Regions from separate parts of the Homo sapiens genome. Here all the other regions are linked to region 1. The links are contacts of gene promoters, found by promoter capture Hi-C in human tissues and cell types (Jung and others, 2019). All regions are on one chromosome and are shown on one strand. The core of a region is centred on a gene start or on the middle of the fragment in contact, and the rest is flanking DNA. Distances in the headings are between cores, read along the strand shown. Region 1 holds the start of TPBG (trophoblast glycoprotein). Region 2 overlaps DOP1A (DOP1 leucine zipper like protein A). Region 3 overlaps UBE3D (ubiquitin protein ligase E3D).

Region 1 (4,165 bases), core at 959-3,458:
AGAAATGACCCTAAATTTCTGGGTCCCTATTCAGCAGCCATAAGCAATTGCCAGCTGCAGGAAGGTGGAGGCAGAAGAAGTAAAAAGGGAACAAGAGGTGAGGTTTACGTTCTGCCTAAGTGGAACAGAGTAGAACTTTGCACAAACTCCTTAATCTTGCCTAGAGGCAGAATGTGGGATGTACTATATGGGAGGCAGGCAAATCTGGGCCTGGTTCCCACCTCCATCACTCATTTGAACAAGTTATGTAATTTATTTTTGCGTCAATTTTCTTGTCTGTAAAACTGGAGTGAGAGGACCTAACTTGAGTACCGAAGTGAAGAGTCAATGAGATAATATCTGTGATCAGCACAGTGCTTGGCAAGTGGAAGACACTCAGTCAAGCTAACTTAAAGCCCCAGTTTTTTCATTTGTACAACAGAACAACAACAATAATAGCAACAAGCAATAATACTAACAATATTTATCTTGCCTCTGAGTTGTCTTGAAAATCAGATGAGTATATATATTATGTTTCTAAATTCTAAAGTGTATCTCACTCTCCTAACAAAGCAGTTGGTCTTCAGATCAGGACCAGAGTTAATACCATGCCAGAGCATTATTACAGGTTTTTTCCAATGAGTAATTAATTTTATTTTTAAACTTATCATACAGTAAAATTGACTCTTTTGGTTTACAAAGTTCTATGAGTTATAACACGTTGTATAGGTTTATGTAACCACCACCACAATCCGGATACAGAACATGACTACAGCTTTAGAGATTCTTTTTCAAAGTGTTTTACATTCATGTTGCAAAACACTTTTAAAAATAAGAAAAGAGATGTAGATAAACGTGCTGAAGATGCAAATTAATGAAACCAGCTTTTGTGCACAAATCTCTGCAGTTTCCAGTGTTTTCAGCTTTTGTCTGAGCCATTTTTGCTGTCGGCTTTGCAGACTATCTCTTTCTATAAAAGTAATCAGGCGTCCGTTGGAGAGTTGGGGTCTTTCTTCACACTAAAGGCACATGTCCCAGGCACAAGCCTCAGGATCCTTATTTGATCTTTTTTAATACGACCAGGTCTTAAATTTCCGAACCATGTTTTCCCTAATTGCCATTTTCTCTCTAAAATGAAGAAGCCTGGAAGAACCTTCTTATCCCTTCGGGGAAATTATTTAATTGGGACAAAGGGGATGTGGAGTTACAGAGAGCAACGATAGGGCTTTCAGAACCCAAAACCTGTCTGGTATAATAACAGATCCTTCCGGTAACCAACCATTCAATTTGTCCCTCTCCCCAACCCCATCCTCTCCATCACCATCTGCCAGATGCCCCCTGGGACAATCGACTTTGAAACCAAACTTCTCTCCCAGGTCAGCTCCTGCAATCCCCACTCCTCATCCTTGGAGCTTTCTCCACAGAAGTGACTTGACACACCGCGCTACATCTGGGGAGGGGGGCGGGTCCGCTTTCCGGGAGACTCAAGTCTTTGCTATTTGCCTTTTGTTTCTGGGATGCCTTTGGCTGCCTTTCTCTTCCATCTGCTTTTAATTTTGGTAAGAGAAAAGCTAATGAATCAGGAATGAATCTCCTCTCCACTAATCTTTTTTTTTTCTTTCTCTCTCTCTCTCTCTTAAAGTTGGCGCGCTCTCTTCACAAGTTCCATCACTACCCAAGAAGTGAGGGGGCGGGGGGGACAGGCGGGAAGGCATTAATTACACCTAAATCTGAAGTTTGCGGCCTCAAGTACCACTTTGATGGGGAGAGCTTCTGAAGCTTCCATACAACCTGCCGTGCCTTTGCTGCTGCCGCAGTAGATTTTCAGCTCATTTCTTTCTGCTGCTGCTTCGCGCTGCTCTGTCATGCCTAAATCTATCTCGTCACTGCCAAAGGTGCCTGAATCAGGGTGAATTCCACGAGATTCACCAGCGGTTTTGCTCCAGTCCAAGGTAAATACAGTATGCAAAATGAGGAACCACCCAAGGATGTCGGGGAGGGGGGAGAGAAAGGGATTCCCTCACCTTTTCCGGCACATTCCTCGTTAATTTCCACCAGGAGGAGGCGCGCAGCCCAGCTCCCCTAGTCTCTCTTCTTAAATCCCCCTACCTACGGCTGCCGAGGTTGGCCGCGCGTCGGGAATCTCCCCGACAGTCCTGGCCCTCCCCCGCCCCCCGGGTTGGTTTTTCCCAGCTGCGGAGGTTGGGAGGTTGGGCCAGGGGCTGGGGTGCGAAGAGAGTCGGCGCCCGCAACGCGGAGCCGGGAAGTCGTCGCTACTCTGGTGGAACTCAGAGTTGGTTCTGGAGGCGGCGGACGCGGAGGTGAGCAGTGGGAGCCCGCGGCCTGGGAGAGACCCGGGAGGCGTCGTTGGGGCCCCTCCCCATCCTCGGGTGGAGAGTAGGGTTGGTTCGGGTTGCCACTGTACCCCGAGTCCCACTGCTGCTTTGTTCCCAGACTCTCCCCTCCTCTTTGGAGATGACTTGAACCCCTTTGAGATCCGAGGGGCTGGCGGGGCGCGGGCTGGGGGGCGACAGTTGTAGCTCCACTTCCTGCTAATGCGAGAAGGTACAAAAAGAGATCAAAAAGTCCTGTAACCTGAAACTTCCCTCGCATCCTAACCGGGACCTGGTGGAGAGGTCTGGGCGGGGGCGGAGACACCCGGAGGCCGACCTTCCGCCGAGGCGGTGCAGGAAGGAACGGGAGAGGGAGAAGTTTGGTAGGGAAGGAATTGGGGATTAAGCGGTAAGTTAGACGCGGGAGACGAGTCTCCTCGGGAAAGGCGGAGGGCGGGAGGCCGGTCGGGTTTATTTAGTGTGGGCCAGGGAAGAAGGAAGACTTTGCGGTCTGGGTGTCGGATGCGCGTCCCCCTCCGGAGTAAAAGTGACCGGAGGGGTTGGGGAGGCGAGGCCGGGGCGGGCTTTTGGAAGGAGGTCTCTGGGACAGACTGGAGACGACTAGACTCGAAAAGGCCGGTTTTTGCACTCCGGAAGCCGCGGCAGCCACCGCTGTTCACGCCTCTCTCCTGCTTGTCCCAGGTCCCTCAGAGGATCCAGCGAGGGGCGCCAACAAGAGGCGAAGAGGTGGCACCAGGGCGGCGGCAGGAAGAGGAGCGGGAGCAGGAGCGCGGAGCGGAGCGTCCCGACCCGCCGTGCGTACTTTCTGGAGGGAAGGGGCGGGGGAATCGGCCCCTGAGGGAAGCGCCCGGTGGCGAGGGGGTTAGCCAAGTTCCGGCTGCGGCGCCACTCCCTCGGTTCCACGAGAGGAAAGTTTTTTTTTTCCAGACGCTTCCGCCGGCTCGCGCCCTCCGGGCCCAGCCTCCCGAGCCTTCGGAGCGGGCGCCGTCCCAGCCCAGCTCCGGGGAAACGCGAGCCGCGATGCCTGGGGGGTGCTCCCGGGGCCCCGCCGCCGGGGACGGGCGTCTGCGGCTGGCGCGACTAGCGCTGGTACTCCTGGGCTGGGTCTCCTCGTCTTCTCCCACCTCCTCGGCATCCTCCTTCTCCTCCTCGGCGCCGTTCCTGGCTTCCGCCGTGTCCGCCCAGCCCCCGCTGCCGGACCAGTGCCCCGCGCTGTGCGAGTGCTCCGAGGCAGCGCGCACAGTCAAGTGCGTTAACCGCAATCTGACCGAGGTGCCCACGGACCTGCCCGCCTACGTGCGCAACCTCTTCCTTACCGGCAACCAGCTGGCCGTGCTCCCTGCCGGCGCCTTCGCCCGCCGGCCGCCGCTGGCGGAGCTGGCCGCGCTCAACCTCAGCGGCAGCCGCCTGGACGAGGTGCGCGCGGGCGCCTTCGAGCATCTGCCCAGCCTGCGCCAGCTCGACCTCAGCCACAACCCACTGGCCGACCTCAGTCCCTTCGCTTTCTCGGGCAGCAATGCCAGCGTCTCGGCCCCCAGTCCCCTTGTGGAACTGATCCTGAACCACATCGTGCCCCCTGAAGATGAGCGGCAGAACCGGAGCTTCGAGGGCATGGTGGTGGCGGCCCTGCTGGCGGGCCGTGCACTGCAGGGGCTCCGCCGCTTGGAGCTGGCCAGCAACCACTTCCTTTACCTGCCGCGGGATGTGCTGGCCCAACTGCCCAGCCTCAGGCACCTGGACTTAAGTAATAATTCGCTGGTGAGCCTGACCTACGTGTCCTTCCGCAACCTGACACATCTAGAAAGCCTCCACCTGGAGGACAATGCCCTCAA
Region 2 (4,165 bases), core at 527-3,026, 720 kb after region 1:
AGATGGGATTTCACCATGTTGGCCAGGCTGGTCTCAAACTCCTGACCTCAGGTGATCCACCCGCCTCAGCCTCCTGAAGTGCTGGGATTACAGGCATGAGCCACCATGCCTGGCCAAAAACCCACTCTTTTATAGATAACAACCAAAAATAAAAACTTCTGTATCAGAATCATGATCATTTTTGCCTTATATTTTAAACACTATCAGTATTGAGTGGTGAACCACTTGGGGTATTTTGAGTTGAGCTTTGGTCCCTGTGCTTCATTCAAGGTCTAGGAAGAATAACATATGTATTTACATTATTATAGTTTTTTTTTAAGTACAATTTCTAAGAAAGAAATCTATATAGCCGGAAAAGTTTTTTGAAAAAAGTTAATGAGAGAGGAGAGGTAGAATATGTCATGCAGGAGAATTAAGACTTGTGGTTTAAAAAAAAAAAAAAAAGTTCAGAAAGATACTGATTAAGGGCCAATTCCAGGAGTCAGTCTGCCAGAGTTCTTCCTGGTTCTTCCTTTTATTCTCTGTGGCACCTTGAACACTAATTGCCTTATATGAACATGGATTCATGTGTATATCTACCTCATGGATGTATTGTGAAGATACATGAGATAATTCACATGAAAGGGCTTAGTATAGTGCCTGGCACAGAGTAATTTGTAAGTCAGTATCAACTGTGATTATTATCATCATCTTGAGTAATACGTGGACAATGTTTATTTGGCTACTATGCTTTGGAGACAGGATGATCCTTTGTAACTCAAGGGTATGTGCTTAAGTGTTTATTATTATGGCTGTTTGCCATTTGAAGCTTAAAGTAGAATCCCACCTACCTGCTAATGGCTCATTCCAAGTTATAAATGGTGCTTATGTTTTGTATTTTCTAAAATTAATATTTTCATATTGCTATGTGTACCAGAAATCACAGAATTTGAAATGAGAAAGAATCTGATTTTATAGCATTCAGAGACAATTTTTAATAACGTATATAATTTTGTGTATATTTACTTGGTAAAAAAAGAAATCGTAAAGTTAAATCAGCTTCACTGTCACCTTGGCAGATCTATGGGCTTTTAAACCTCTTGTGTCTTAGGTTTTTATTCGTATAGCTTTTCTGAGACCTAAAGTGAAAATATAAATAGTCATATGCTGTATAACATTTCAATGATGGCCCACCTATGTAACAGTGGTCCCGTAAGGTTTTAATACTGTATTTTACTGTACTTTTCTATTTTTAGGTACACAAATACTTACTGTTGTGTTACAGTTACCTACAGTATTCAATATATAACATGCTGTACAGGTTTGCAGCCTAGGAGCAATAGGTTATACCATATAGCCAGGATGTGTAGTAGGGTTTACCATTATGTCTGTTTAAGCATGTTCTATGAATGTTCACACAATAACTAAATCACCCAACAACACATCTCAGAACATATTCCCATCAAGCAATGCATGACTATAAATAAGTACATAAAGTATAATAAAACTTTTTCCAAATTTTTCTCCAGCTTGAGATTTGCAGCTAATTAATTTGAAAAGATTTGACTTCGACGTCTGGGAGTATCATACCTAAGTAGTTTGTTTTTTTTGTTTTGTTTTGTTTTTTTTGAGACAGAGTCTTGCTTTGTAGCCCAGGCTGGAGTACAGTGGCACCATTTTGGCTCACTGCAGCCTCTACCTCCTGGGTTCAAGCGATTCTTGTGCCTCAGCCACCCAAGAGGCTGGGATTACAGGCACGCACCACCACACCTGGCTAATTTTTGTATTTTTTTTTTTTTTTAGTAGAGATGGTTTCACCATGTTGGCCAGGCTGGTCTCGAACTCCTGGCCTCAAGTGATCTGCCTGCCTTGGCCTCCCAAAGTGCTGGGATTACAAGCATGAGCCACTGCACCCAGCCTAAATAGGATTTTTTAAATCTCCTTTCACAGGGCTGGAATGACTTCCTTCACATTTAGATAGTTATGTTTAATACAGATTAAACTGAGCCAGTTTTTTAAAAGTGTAACTGGAATGTACACATTTTTATAAATGTTCTTAGGCAATCTGTTTTTTAAAGCACTTAATAGCCATGTGAATGTATTCTGTATTTGAGGAGAGTAAGGTCAAGTGTGACTATACTAGTTAAGAAATAGAACTGTAGTTCTGCTTTTTATTTTTCTTCTACAAAGCTTTTCTCAGAAAAAACAAACGAAAATGGTTTAACTATATTGTCGTTGATAGATTAGTTCATTTATTCAGATTATATTTGAGGCCCTACTGTTTATCAGCCACTATTATGGGACTGCCGATGCAGGTATGAACAACTAAGATAAGGCTATTGACTTCATAGTATTTGCATCCCATTGAGAGATGATAGACAGGAAACAAGCAAATAAATAGGAAAATTTCAAAGTGTAACAAATGCTAATAAGGAAATAATGTGATGTTATAGGGTATGTGGTAAGAGTTTGGCCCCAGGCAGGCTACTTAGACTGATCAGAAAGAACTTTTGGTAGGGTTTGATATTACTGGAGGACGGGAAGAAATCTGTCACATAGAGTTGACCAAAGAGATTTTAAATGTAGAGAATAGCAAGAACAAAATGCCTAGAATGCAAAAAAAATTGGTGTATTTGAGTTTGGATATTATTCTAAGCTTTGTATTGGAATATTTGTATTTAGGGTATAGCTAAGATGTTGCTGTTTCTGCTGTATCAGAAGAGGTCTTATCCTTAGAGAATAATTAAGACTAGAAGGTGACCAGGACAAGCTTTGAGGAAAACCATTGATGGGTTTTTTGCGGTATTTTATGTTATGTTATGTTATGTTATGTTATGTTATGTTATGTTATGTTATGTTATGTTATTTTGAGACAGAGTCTCGCTCTATCGCCATTGACAGGTTTTAGGCAAAGGAATGACATAATGTGTCTCTGGCTTCTCTGTGGAGGATGAATTATGCAGACTCTCAAGAATAGAAGCAGGAATCAGTGGTGTGCTGGAGTGGGCTATAACTGGTTAGAATAATAGAAGAGGAAAAGTGGCAGGTATAGATTTAGGACACATCAGTTAACAGATGCTATTGGAGCTATAGGACTATAGGAGATAACCTAAAGGGAAAGAAGAGAGGAGGGTTCCTGATTGAACCTTGAAGTAAGGCTGACCCATGAATCGAAAATCCACGTATAATTTTTGACTCCCCAAAAACTTTACTAATAGCCTACTATAGACTGGAAGCCTTACTGGTAACATAAATGGTTGATTAACACATTTGTAGGTTATATGTATAATATGCTGTATTCTTATAATGAAATAAGCTAGAGAAAAGAAAATAGTAAGAAAACCATAAGAGAAAATATATGTACTGTTCATTAAGTGGAAGTGGATCATCACAAAGATCTTCATGAACCTCATTGTCTTCACTGTGAGTGGGCAGAGGAAGAGGAGGAGAAAGAAGAGAGGTTGGTCTTGCTGTCTTGGGTAGGTAGTAGAAGTGGAAGAAAATCCACGAAGAAACGGACCCATGCAACTCAAATTGCATGTTTTTCAAGACTCAGCTGTACCTCAGCATTTAAAATTGAATAGAAAAGAGAAGCCAACATAAACTGAAAAAAAGAGGCTAAGAGATAACAAACCTTGAGAGGGAAGAGTCCCGGAAGCCAAAAACAAGGTATTGAATACTGCTGAGTTGAATAAAATGAGGGGCTACAGAAGTGACCTTTGGCTTTGGTTAAAGCACATTATGGGTGATTTTTATACGGGTTTTTTTCCTGGAGGGACAGTCCCATAGGCATTTCACGGAGTCTGAAGAGTGAATAAAAGATAAGGAAAAAATAGCAAATATAGAGAAATCTTTCAGGTTTTGCTATGAGAGAATAAAGAAATGGGTTGGCAGCCAGAGAGCCTGTGGGGGTCAAGGAAAGGCTATGGGTTTTAATTTTAGTTTTAGTTTTAGTTTTAGTTTTAGACCATGAGAGATTCGGGGGGTAGACTTTAGGCTGTAGACAGGAAAAGAAACTGATAGTATTGAAGGAGCCTGAGCTAATAGTCCTTGGGAAGGCAAGAGGAGACCAGATTCAGAACACAGCAAGAGGGAGGCCTTTACTGGGAGGAAGGTCCTTTGTCCTTCATAATGGAAAGAAAAGTAGAGAATATGGGTATAGGTGAAGATAGGTTACAGATTTGTT
Region 3 (4,165 bases), core at 492-2,991, 680 kb after region 1:
CTCCAATAAAGTATTATAAACTCTAAAAGGCTATGGAAGAAAAGAAAGTGTTGGGCTTCATGTTTGTTTGTGCTGTTTTTAAAAGCAGATCTTTTTAATTAAACATATTATAGCACATAAATTTCATTTAAAGAGAATCTCTGCTTTGTAATGCATTTTTCTTCACCTATCCTTCAAGGAAATAATAAGGCAAGTTGTGTAATGAAGCAGCCTAACAGTGTGGGAACTCTACAGAGCAAACCTCAAAGACAGACATTGTTGTGCACTAATTAAGTCAATATATCTGAGACACCACAGGGCTGCTCAGAGAGGTGGATTAGCCTCGTGTCCTCCCTTTTATTTTCCCTTTGTGTCGTTTCAATTTCTAAGGACCCTTGATATTGTCTCATCAAAAAAATGTTTCCCAAGAGATACCATTAGGATGCTTTGTTACTATGTGACATTTCAAAACCCTGCTAGATGGCTAGACTGGGTGATAGGAGAAATAGGTTTTCAATAGCACAGAACAGCCTTGTTCCCACAGGAGCCTTGAGAGCGCTGTTTACGCAGTCCCTCCAAATTTATGTTTCTATTTTGGTCACAGGCACACTCTTTGGACTGCTACAATATACAATTAAAGAGGGACTTTCATCTAGGCTAACTTGAAGAAAATCTTTTCAACAGCATCTTGTCTTGATAGTACAGAATTTCCCACAGTCTCCTTGATACTAAAACTGTAATGTCTAAAAATATGATGGGTCTTTCTTTAATGGATAAGATAGCTGTTTACTATGAAGAGAAATTCTTGTAAATGGCATCACATAACTGATAAAGATGTAAATGTGATGAATATATTTCAGCACAGAGTGCTGAGTTTATTTAAAAAGGGAAACATGGTTTCTCTGATTCAATCTTTCTCTACTACTTTTCTGCTCACAACTTCCAAATGTTTTTGAAATGTATAGCTTAATCATAAAGATGAAATTTAAAACACATATAAAGTATTAGTATATATTTAGATTAAAATACAAATTTAATTAATCATATTAAATATAACAAATATATATTAACTTACTATTTACCTTTTAAAATATAAAATGTAAAGTACTACATTTCACCAAAGTGAACCATATTTAGATAAAGGGATTTCTGTTTACAGTGTAAAATGAGGCACTTAAATAACTTTATCTGACAACAACTTAACCTCCACATTTGACGAATTTCCTTCATCTCCCTCAGAATAGTTCTATAAACTAATTTACAACCTAAGAGCTGCCCACCTACTGCATATTTCCTGCAGTCGCTCAGTTATTATTACAAAAATTAAATGAGTTCTGAATGAAATTTAAAATACAATGTTTTAGTTCCCACCAATAATCAGATGTTAAAATGATTCTCTGGGAATGATTTTACTTTTTAAATAATATCTGTATTGACTGGCCATCAGTGGAATGCTTTCTCACATGGGCCAAGCCAATGCCATTGATTTTCTTTTAAAATAAAGTAAAACACTTGTTCTCTGCAGTGAGAGAAAATTGCCTTCTTCCCAAAGCAACTTATGCAGCAAGAGCCACCTGACCTCACACTGTCAAGCACCAACTCAGACCCTGAAACACAAGCTTTATCTCCATTCCTGGGCTCCTCCATTCCTCTTTTTACTTGATGACATCTCCATTTATGACTTCAGCAGAAGTCTAGACTATGGGCAGAAATAGTAAAATACCTCAGCCTAATAGTATAGTAGATATCCTGGAGCAAGACAACACTTTTAACCTAAATCAGACTATTTAGGATAAAATGCACACAAATTATGCAATATTGTCCTAAGAACAAGAAAGCAAGACATTTTGTTTGTAAAATGGTAGCACTCGCAATTCTAAGCCTGCAGAGGTCTTCCTCTCCTTATTCTTCCAGGCGCCTGTGGCTGTTTTAGTTTAAAGCCATATGCTCTTCCTGTTTTGATAAAGCAACGATAGCGATGACAGTTGAAAATAATGAATTTTGGCCTTTACAGCAGTCTATGTAACAAGCCCTTAATTAGGAAAAGATTGAAGAAGTCAGTATCTAAGACAGCCTCTAAATTACCATTTATTTTGAAATGATATTTTACCAATTTACAATGGTTGTCAGAAGAAACACAGCACATCTCCACTGGGGATAGTTCAGGTCTTTGCTGCCACAAACTGGTTCTTAAATTCACCAAGAAGAAAGAGTCTCCAATAAAACAGTCATTCTCTTGCGGATGAAGTGATTTATTAGCAAAGGGGTCAGGATGACAACACCATTCTCCAACTAGAGCTCCCCAGTTCTCACTCGGCAGTGGGAGCACCCTGAGGAGCTTCCTAGTGGAAAGAGGAAAAATCATTTTTCACAGAACAAAATGATACTAACATTTTCTTAATTAAATGACCATAAAAGATGAAAGAAACTCATTAACCACAAGGTTTGCAATGCTAATTTTTTCCCCAATTATAAAAGTAATATATACTCACTACAGCTAATTTTGAAAATGCAAGGAGGTATAAACAAGGAAAAATCATCCTTTATCTCACTACCCAGAGATAAGTAACTAAACATGACAGTGTATTTCTTTGCCATCCGTTCAAAAGATATATCTGTACATATCACACGAAGTTTGAGAATCGTGAATAAACATACTATATCTTGCTTTTGTTGTTTTATTTAGATGAATCCTAATTAGTCCACAATATTCTATTCCATAAGTACATCAAAACTTTTGAGATGATTCCCTCAACTGTTAGATATTTAGGTTTTGAGTTTTTCATTATCAATAACTCTGTGATGAATGTTCCTGTTAGAATATTTATGAACATATCTATTTTCCTTGGAAAGAATCCTATATAAGTGTGAGATGATAAGCACAAACTATATGCATATTTTAAAACCCAACACCTATTTGGTGAATTTCTTTTCAGAAAGGCTGTGCCAATCTATAATTCTTCCACTCACCCTTTTCATAAATGAATACTATCATTTTTCCATTTCTGCATTAGTAATAGGTAAAAGTATTTTCAATGCTGCTTTAACTGGCAACTCTTAAATTACTGGTGAGATTCATCTAGTTTTGCTACTTATAGTCTACTGTGTTTCTTCTGTGAATTGTGATTAGTGACTATTTTCCAGGGTGGTATTATTATGTTCTTATTAATTTGTAAAAATGTGTTCTATATTAAGAGTATTAGCCTCATGCTTATTAATCTGTTACAAATTTTTTTGGTGTTACTGCCTTTTATTTTGGTTTACGTGTCTTAATGGTCAGATCACCTAACAACTTTCTTCTATAATTTCTTCTATTACTATATTTTAGTAAACTTTTCATTTTGGAATAACTTTAGATTTACAGAAAACTTACAAAGGTAGTGTATTAGTTCCCATATACACTTCACCCAGATGGACCTAAACTTACTATTTTATGGTACCATGGTAGATTTGTCAAAACTACACACTTTGAATTCCACCTGTTTTTCCACTAATATCCTTTTTTTCTGTTCCAAGATCTAATTTATGATAATACTTTGCATTTAGTCATCATGTCTCCCTAGTCTCGTCTGGTCTATAACAGTTTCTCAATATTTCCTTATTTTTCAGACACTTGAGATTTTTGCAAAGATCAGGTATTTTACAGAATATTCTTCAATCTGAGTTAGTCTAATATTGTCTCAAGATTAGGCTGGTGGTATGGATTTGGGGAAAGAATCTCACAGAAGTGAAATGTACCTTTCTCATCACATCAAATCAGAGAATATATCATATCAACACAACTTAGTGATGCTAATCTTGATAACTTCGTTAAGGTGATATATGCTAAGTTCCTCCTTCTAACAAAACACAAATACTAGTAAATTAATGTACATTCAGATGTTATAAGTTAAAACATTTAAAATGTGAATGCTACTTTTTTTTTTTAACAATTCCCCCATGTTAACCATTTTCCTTTGATTTCCCCAATCAACTGAGTTGCATAAAAGGGCAATTACAGTTCAGAAGAGGGTACACAATTTATAACTGCAGAGGACAAAGCTAGAAACAAGAAAGGCTGATTTTAGTTTAACATAAGGAAGAACTTTTCCTTTGAAATTAGTATATGCTGCACCATTGGTATCATCAAAGTGCTGAGCCTGTTAAGCATACTGAGAAGTGATTCTTTCAACGTACATTTCCTATA

The links. Contacts are between HindIII fragments. The study calls those that stand out against the background at their distance.
Region 2: a contact is called between a fragment that was not itself captured here and the fragment with the promoter of TPBG in region 1, in 2 of the 25 tissues and cell types used here (IMR-90 fibroblasts and neural progenitor cells).
Region 3: a fragment that was not itself captured here is called in contact with the fragment with the promoter of TPBG in region 1 in 3 of the 25 tissues and cell types used here (heart right ventricle, lymphoblastoid cells and neural progenitor cells).

The regions. Positions count from the first base shown.
Region 1 is chr6:82,361,609-82,365,773 of GRCh38, forward strand. TPBG (trophoblast glycoprotein) reads left to right here and starts at 2,209. Exons shown (of 2, transcript NM_001376922.1): 1 at 2,209-2,300; 2 at 3,015-4,165. The coding sequence starts at 3,354. It overlaps LOC105377875 (a long non-coding RNA gene), which reads right to left and starts at 2,049. Exons shown (of 3, transcript XR_942738.4): 1 at 2,004-2,049. RefSeq lists enhancers at 1,642-2,155, 2,156-2,667, 2,819-3,721, 3,722-4,165 and a silencer at 3,690-3,769. The HindIII fragment of the contact is 6,837 bases long and covers 1-3,213 here.
Region 2 is chr6:83,082,993-83,087,157 of GRCh38, forward strand. All of the region lies in intron 1 of DOP1A (DOP1 leucine zipper like protein A), which reads left to right. Among named protein-coding and RNA genes, the nearest start is that of DOP1A, 17 kb to the left of the region's middle. RefSeq lists an enhancer at 3,852-4,001. The HindIII fragment of the contact is 4,029 bases long and covers 1-3,791 here.
Region 3 is chr6:83,042,339-83,046,503 of GRCh38, forward strand. It overlaps UBE3D (ubiquitin protein ligase E3D), which reads right to left. Exons shown (of 10, transcript NM_198920.3): 4 at 2,090-2,321. Among named protein-coding and RNA genes, the nearest start is that of UBE3D, 21 kb to the right of the region's middle. The HindIII fragment of the contact is 9,560 bases long and covers 1-4,165 here.